Linked DNA regions of Homo sapiens: region 2 is linked to region 1. Evidence: promoter capture Hi-C in 16 types of primary human blood cells and fetal thymus (Javierre and others, 2016). All regions are on one chromosome and are shown on one strand. The core of a region is centred on a gene start or on the middle of the fragment in contact, and the rest is flanking DNA. Distances in the headings are between cores, read along the strand shown.

What was found. Contacts are between HindIII fragments. The CHiCAGO score rates a contact against its expected background, and 5 or more counts as called.
Region 2: a fragment that was not itself captured here is called in contact with the fragment with the promoter of NRGN in region 1 in 1 of 17 cell types (total CD4 T cells); the score reaches 5.4 in total CD4 T cells.

What each region holds. Positions count from the first base shown.
Region 1 is chr11:124,738,122-124,742,242 of GRCh38, forward strand. It overlaps NRGN (neurogranin), which reads left to right and starts at 1,821. Exons shown (of 4, transcript NM_006176.3): 1 at 1,821-1,978. The coding sequence starts at 1,964. RefSeq lists silencers at 1,520-1,579, 1,640-1,959. The HindIII fragment of the contact is 6,441 bases long and covers 1-4,121 here.
Region 2 is chr11:124,956,130-124,960,478 of GRCh38, forward strand. It overlaps CCDC15 (coiled-coil domain containing 15), which reads left to right. Exons shown (of 16, transcript NM_025004.3): 3 at 2,986-3,135; 4 at 3,686-3,874. Among named protein-coding and RNA genes, the nearest start is that of CCDC15, 4.1 kb to the left of the region's middle. The HindIII fragment of the contact is 912 bases long and covers 2,130-3,041 here.

The DNA.
Region 1 (4,121 bases), core at 571-3,070:
ACTTGGGAGACTTGACTGCAAACTCACCAAATCCCGAATTCCTCAGCTCTAATTTGGGAAGAGAAAAGCACAGAGTCTAGGCCTGGTATCCACTCTGTCCCCCAATTTCCCCCTTTCCTCTCCTCTCTGGATTCTGGAGTTGAAGTCCAGCAGGAATTGGCACAACAGAAGGCCACAGATGTGCGTGTCATTTAGGCAAGGGCCTGAGTTCCCAGGACATCTGGCCACTTGGAGGAGGTGGGGAGATGAAAGATGTGCCAGAGACAGATTGGGGAACAGATTTTTTTTTACAAAAGTGGGTGGGTCCCAAACATGCTGGGAGAGACACCCCTACACCCCAAGCCCTGGAATCCCGGCCAGCATCCAGCTCAGCCTGGGACCCCAAGCTGGCTAACCTTATCCCCACCCTGAATGGACTCAGGCATTTCTCTCCCACTCATTTTTCCTTTGGCAAGCAGAGCCTCGGGCCCAAACATCTAGGTGGAAAGGAAGCATGTCACCGCCACGTGGTCCCTGGTCATGGCCAGGGACTGGGGATGCACAGCAGAGCTGTCTCAGGATCTGCTGTCCCAACCAGAGCCACAGGGCATTTCCCACCTTTGCTCCCAGCAGGAGCCATCCTTTCCTCCTTCCCTTCTCTGGGACCTTAGCTGAGAAGACTTTCTAGTTTTCTCAGAGAAGGCCTACCCTACCCACATAACAAGCCACACTGCCAGCTTTTGTACCCTGCCGAGTTGGGGGAGGCTGACGACCACAACAGTGGCAGTCTGTCCCTCCCAGATGCTCTTTCCATAGCTCCCCTTCCCAGCCTCTCACGAAGCCCACATCCTGCCTCATCATGGACCCAAGAGCCAATTACTTCGAATTCTCTACACTTGGGTTTAGGGTATTTTTCTTCTTCTCAGGAGCAAGGGCGAGGATGGCCAGCTTTTGTCTTATTCTGAGGCAGCAGATCAAAAGGTTAGGCAGAGTCTGGTATGAAAGGGAGGAGGATACTTCTTCCAAGTCTGTGCCCATATATAAATACATACAAAATAGGTGTTGTGCATATATGATGTTGTTTGTTGCAGCTCATGTAGACAGATCGATAATAGATACGTCATGCCGACAGCTTGAGTTGGGTGACTGTCCGTGTGCGTGCGTGAGCGCGCGGGCGCCCGCAACAGGGTGTCCGCATTTACCTGCAACTGAAGGGCTGCGTAGTTATTTTTGCAGGTTGTATCTGCAGTGTCTGTATGCTGGAAGAAGGCCTGGGAAAATCATATGTGGACATGTGGGGCTTGTGAGCTTTTGTGTGGACGCATGCCCATCGCCAGGTTGTACCAACAGGTTTCTCCGTCTGTAGCAGGAGTGATGATGAGACCTTTTTACCGCCCGTTAGGGAGCCTTTCTTTGCGGACTGAGGGGGAGTGAAGTGAAAGGGAGCCATATTTGGGACTCCTGCTAGGTTGTGGAAGTATGGAGGGATGGGTGAGGGGTGCGTGGTTTTCTCTGAGCGGGAGTAGGTGCTGTGCCCAGATGTGGGTGTTTGTGCTCGGGGTGTCGGGGGCCTCCTTCTGCCTACTCCGGCGTACATCTGCCTGGCAGTCTGCCGCCTAGCAAGCCAGGGGATTGCGCCCGGGAGGATGGAGTGTGTAGGAGGCTTGGATACAAGCGTGTAGGCGGAGGGGCTGGGGCAGGAGCGGGAGCGCGGCGCAGAGAGCCGCGAGAGGGCGTGGCCCTCCCTCCACTTCTCCCCGCCCACCCTGCCGGAGGCTGCTCCTGATTGGCTTCCCGGCCGCGGGGCTCAGGTTACATTCGCGAGCGGAGCCGAGCGCGGGAGACCGGACCCGAGAGCAGAGCTGCTGTTTCGGCGCGGGTCGGCTGGCGGCCGACTGCCCCAGAGCCCCCACCCGGCACCACACAGACCCCACCCCCGCCCTGCGCCAGCCTTCGTCCCCGCAGAGGACCCCCCGACACCAGCATGGACTGCTGCACCGTAAGTTAGAGGGCCCGGGGGAGGGGCACTTGGCGGGGTCCGCTGCGAGAGGCGCCTGAGAAAGCCCTGGAGGGCGAGAGAGGGATGGAAGTGGATGCGGAAGACCTAGGAGCAGAAAGAAAAGGGGTCCTTGCCGAGACGTGGGTGGTGGATGGTGGAAGGCGCCCGCCCGACTTGGAAGCCCTAGGAAAAATGCTCCTCAACTCGCGGGGGCGTCTGAGCGCCCATCCGTTAGACAGCCTAGGCTGGACTGGGAGCTCGGCAGGGCTCTGCAAGAGGGGAACTGCGGGTTGGATGACAGGAGGAACTTCCTCCCCAGTGAGACGCTGGCAACCATCGCCTGGAGACACTGCAGCGACTCCTTCCTCCCGTCTTTCGGCCCCCACCCCGTTCCCCATCCCACTGCGCCGCCGTCGGTGGGCGGACAGGCTGATCCTCATGACCCTCCAACGATCGCCTAAGCGCCCTGTGCAGCGCAGGCTGGTCCATATTGGTTAGCTCGGTAGTGATGCTGGCTGCAAAGAGCCTAGTCAGGGTGGTTCTGGGGAGGGGTTGTCCCGGCCCCCAAGGCCTTCTCGCTCGGAAGGGGCTGGGTGAAGTGACCGCGAGAGAGCCCTGCTGGCGAGGAAAGGAAGTGTCTGCAATTTGTCAGCGCCCACGCGGAAACCTGGGTACTGCAAGTGCCCAGCGCCCGAGGGGTTTGCTGTAAAGGTGACTCGGTATGAAAGCGCCTGGCATAGGCCCTGGCTCCTGCCTCACTGGAAGAGTACAGTGATCATACGTATATGAAATTTATTTGTTTGCTTATTTATTTTTTGCCTCTGCACTTGGAGAAAGACTATTCCAAAGTCCTTGTATTTTCAGTCATTCAGTCAACCAGCTAATGATACACGAGGTTACTGACTTTGCCACCTTATGGCATAGTAAAGAAAAAAAAAGTGGGCTTTGGAAGGGAAGGATAGCCCAGTTCTATAATAGGTGAGACTTTCCCATGTCTGGGTACCAAGAGGCAGAGAACACTTAGGGGCAAGTGGTGGTGGTTGCGATTTTAACTCTTATTAGTTTAAGTAATAGTTGCCAGTTTGTGAATGCCTGCCCTGTAGCCAGCACTTTATATTTAATCATAGCAACAACCCTGTGAAGTAGGTATTATTTCACAGATGTGCCAACTGAGGTTTAGAAAGTTAGATTTTTCCAAGGAAGCATGACTCCTAACTGTGGAGGCAGGATTCAAACATAGCCCTGTCTTCTTCGAAGAGCTGTGGTTTAACCTCTCCTCTAAATATTTACTGATTATAAAAGTAATCTGCTCATAATAGAAAACGTAAAACCTAGAGAAAAGTATGAAAAACAAACATGTCAGTCACCTACAGTCCCACCCCCTGGAGAACACCCCGATAACATATCTCCTTCCAGCCTTTTCCCTCTGCTTGTTATTCTACAGGAAGCAATTTTTTGGTTGTGAAGGGAGAAATGGGCTCCTCATGGAGGTTCCTGGGCTCCACTGAGGAAGAGCCCTTCCTCCCAGCAGTGTTGTATAAAGTAGAGAAGATAAATGGATGGTGGGTTCTGGGAAATGAGCTGGGGGGAGGGGAGAGGTGAGGATGACAGGGGAGTATTGCTGGGGAAGGGGAAGTGGGAGACGTGGTCACTGGAAAGAGGTGAGTAAACAAAGAATCCAAGAGGCCAGGGAAGGAATGGAATTGGTCTCCTCTGTGTCTGCAGTAGTAATTAGAGTAGGATGTGGGGGTCCCTGCCTGGAACTGTTGCTCTTGAGTGCCCAGGGAGCCATACTGAGGGATTAGTAGACATGGTTGAAGTCAGTGTCCCTTAAAAAAGGAGAGGCTACCCACCCAAAAGGTAAAAGAGAAGCAGATACACAATTATCTCCATGGCCCAGGGCCTGGGGCACCTCCTCCAGTGCACCCTGTGCACAGGAGCCTTCCCAAGTCATGCCCTGTCCTAGGTCTGCAGGGCTAAAGGGCTGAGCAAGAGAGAGCACCATTATCAGACTGTGCAGGAGGGCAGGAAGAAGAAGGAGTGATGTGTGGAGGGTTGGGGAAGGGCAGGGCTAGGGGTGGGCATTTTCCTCCCCTTTCTGTGGAGGGCTGGACTCAGTGCTGGGAGAGAGCTGAGATGTGTG
Region 2 (4,349 bases), core at 1,336-3,835, 220 kb after region 1:
TTTTGGAGAAGGGATTGACTTTGTTTAATATTTACAGGTGAATGTCATGATCAACCAGTGTTTTCTTTAGATGAATTGCTTCAAAGGTTTTGAAGGATAGGGAGTGATTGGATCCTGGGGATAAATTAGAATATAATTATAATAATTTAAGCATGGAGTATAGCATCGAAACTTTGTTAGTGGTAAGAAATAGAGAAGAACAGCCTTGAAAAAGGATGATTGAAGTGCTTGAGCCCACGAATTGTAGGCTGCAGTGAACTATGATCATACTACTGCACTCTAGCCTGGGCAATAGAGTGAGACCCCATCTCTGGAAAAAAAAAAGGAGTGGAATGAGAAGGGATGAATGCAGGAAACACCCCACAAGACTTGGTAAGATTTGGTATAAAGATATTTTGGTATTTAAGTTGTTGACACCTCTTTGTAATTGCTCAAATTACATCTGTATAATATCAGTAGTGTCAACATGCCTAAAATTTGACACCATCAAACTTTTTCTATGTTAAGAAGTATTGACTATCGTATTCACACACATTAACTCAAAATATTAAAGTCTTGGAACATGGATAAACATATCTCCTTTTCCTGATTTAAAAATTTCTGATCAGTTCCAGCCAAAGGGAGTTTGATCAAGCATCTAATAGAACTCCTTATAGCTTTAGCATATCTAGTCTGGGTATCCACCCTTATTAACGGATATAGCTCTGTCAGCTCAAAATAAATGCTGAATAGTTACTTCTAAAGCTTGGCCCTTAGATCATGTCTGTTCTAAAGGGGAACTTCTACTCATTTTTCTCCCCAAAATTTCAGGGGGCCATCAGGATTCCTAAAAATGTCATAGCTTTAGACTACCTCCCCCCAATAATTATTAATAAATTAGCATCAAAAGACACTGCTGTTCTATCATCATATATGGGATTGCATTATTTTATAATTTGTTCTGGTTACCTTTTGCTGTGTAACCAACCACCCCAGAACTTAGTGGTATAAAGCAAATAATACTATGTAACAGGAATTTGAGCAGGGTACAGTGGTAATGGCTTGTTTCTGCCCCATAGTGTCTGGGACCTCAGCTGGGGCTCAAATAACTGGACATGTCTGAGACACCTTGACTATTTTCCGGCTATTGGCTGGAGCTAGACAATAGTCAAGTTCTCCCAGTAATGTGGCACCTGCTGGGCTGTAATGTCCAAGATGGCTTTCTTATTCACATATCTGACGCTTGGCCTAGGATGACTAGAATGTCTGGGTGCTGGTTAGATATGTTTCTCTTTTCACATGGCTTCTCTGTTTGACTAACTTGGGCTTCCTCACAGCATGGTAATCTCAGGGTAGTCTGAATTTTTATATGGTGCTGACTTCCTTCAGAATGAGCACTCTAAGAACAGAGGTGGAAGTTTCTTTATGACCTGGCTTGTAATCTTGTGGAGTAAAAGAGGAGCAGAGAAAATGGAGGTAAAAGAAAGAGGCCGAATGGCTTAAACTTGTCTGGGGCTTGAGTTAAGCTGGGTCAGTTGTTCAGGCTTCATTACGTATATATCTCTCCGTTGGAATTATTTTACCTAATTGTTCTTTGACACTTGTACACTCCACTAGAGTAGTTTATGGGATAGACATCTTGGAAATTTTAACTTAAATTGAAATTTGAATGCATTTGATTTTGAGAATTTAATGACAGCCTGTAAAATGATCTGAGGTACCCTTCAGAATTAGAAGTTGGAATCACTGAGTTAGAAGGAATAGGTACGAGATATGATGATGATTTTATTTAATTTGAAAATTCCTAGTGAAAGAGAGACATAGTCAAGAGAAAAGCAGTGTAGAGAGGAACATAATTGTTGGAGTCAGAAACTTCTAATTCTGCTACTAGTTAGCTATATTAAAATTACTTAATCTTTCTGAACTCCAGCTTCCTCATCTGTAACATAAGGGATAAGAATACCTACTGCCAAAGGTGGTTTTGAGGATAGAGTGCTACAAAGTAGTTAAAATACTTGTCACCTGATAGATCCATAATAATGATAAGTGCTGTTATGATGATGACTATGATTATTATTCAAAGCACTTAGAGGAGATAAATGCAGATCAAGAACTCAAATGGGATAAAGTGTTCCAGATTGTTCAGAACAAGCTTGTCCAACATGCGGCCATGGGCCACATGTGGCCCAGGATGGCTTTGAATGCGACCCAATGTAAATTAATAAATTTTCTTAATTAACACTATGAGTTTTTTTGTGATTTTTTTTTTTCTCATCAGCTACTAGTGTTAATGTATTTTATGTGACAGTTCTTCCAACATGGCCCAGGGAAGCCAAAATATTGGACACCCCTGGTTTAGAATATGTTTTGGAATTGAGCAATTATATAAATATATATTGACTACCCTTATAGTGAAGGCTCTGTACTAGATGCCGTAGGGGAAATAAAGGAGAATTGAATACATATCCTGTCCTCAAAGAGTTCATAATCTAGTAGGGGAGTCAAGAAGTACTATACTCAGTTAACATTGGTGAAATGAGAGGTGTTATAGCATAAGAGGGCTTAGAGAGAGAGTGTTGTGGAAGGTACTGGGGAGTGGGTATTAAATGGTTGTGAAAACTGAATAGGCCTTTACTAGGTGGAGATGAAAGGAAGGGCATGCCAGGTTAAAAATGGAGCATAATGCCAAATATGAAGACATTTTAACAATAGGACATATTTGGTGAGTGGTAAGTAACCTGGTGTGTCTTGACTATTTACTCCATTTTAGAAAATGTGTAACGTGTTAGGTTTTATTTGGTTCATTAAGATTTAATGAAGACATCGTTAGTTCTAATTCAATAAAAAATTTAAGATTTGATACTCATACATTCCATTTTTTTTTGTACAGAATGGAATTATTTTTTTCAGGATTGTATCCTTATCCTGACTGTTTTGTGTTTAAAACAGCCCTAATGGACAAAACTGCTAACATTTAAGTTCATTTTCTGTCTTTCATCTTTAAAGACATCAGCATATTTAATTGAAGAAGAACTAAAGGAACAGCTAAGAAAAAAACAAGAAGCTTTGAAACATTTTCAGAAACAAGTTAAATACCGAGTAAATCAACAAATTAGGTTGAGAAAAAAGCAACAGCTTCAGAAGTCTTATGAAAGAGTAAGTTCAAAAGTGAGCCTGAGTAAAGATTGAATGGAAAATATGTGTGTTATGAGATAAGCTATTAGGCAGTAACAGAATTGCTTTCCTTTGATTACATGCCTAATATAATCTAATTAACTAGTGAAGACAGTAAATTTTTTTTGTAGAGAAACCATGTTTTATTCCTGTGTTCTGACTCAATTTTTTGCTTTTACCAAGTAGTTAAAAGCAATGTCAGAATTTTGGGTTCAGACTTGAGTTTGAATTTTGGCTTTGCTACTTCTAGCTATTGACTTTTGGCTAATTACTTAACTTCACTGATTGTAGTTTCTTCATCCATAAAATAAGGATATGATACTTCTCTCATAGGATTGTGTGAGAGTTAGATGAGATAACCTAAATTATTAGCACATGGGAGGTGCCTGGTAAATGTTAGTTTCTCTGCCAGCTAAAGCCTCTCCCCTGCCCCCCACCCCAATTTAAAATCTTCTGAACTGCTTTAGAGGCATTATTTGATTGCTCTGGATTGGGGTAGAATGTTACTATCCCCCTTTCTTCTTTCGTGTAGGCACAAAAAGAAGGCTCCATAGCCATGCAGTCTTCAGCAACACACTTAACTTCCAAAAGGACAAGTGTTTTTCCAAACAATTTGAATGTTGCTATTGGAAGTTCTAGGTTACCTCCTTCCCTGATGCCTGGGGATGGAATAGAGGATGAAGAGAATCAGAACGAATTATTCCAACAACAAGCCCAGGCTGTAAGTACCTGTTCTTTTTATTTTATGTCTATGATATTTTCCCTATCCCCTAAACTATAAATATGACATCTAGGGTATGAGGTAGGGATTAAGAGTTATCACACTCAGCTTCACTTTTGATAATCATCCCCCTTTTTTTTTTTTTTTAGCTTTGTAAAGTGGGGAATAGTGGGATAATGCTTTTTAAAAATTTTAAATTTAAATTCATTTGTGTTTGGTAAGATACTCTAAAATTATCTAAAGAAAAGTGCCGCGGAGCCTGCAGTGAGCCGAGATTGCGCCACTGCACTCCAGCCTGGGCGACAGCGAGACTCCGTCTCAAAAAAAAAAAAAAAAAAAAAAAAAAAAAAGAAAAGTGCCAAAGTGCTAGAATTCAAAACCTATTAGAAAGCACTTTAGGTCAAGAACATGGATTTTCCAAGTTATATTGAAATTATATTCTAGGCAAGCTACTATTAGTTTGTAATTTACAGAG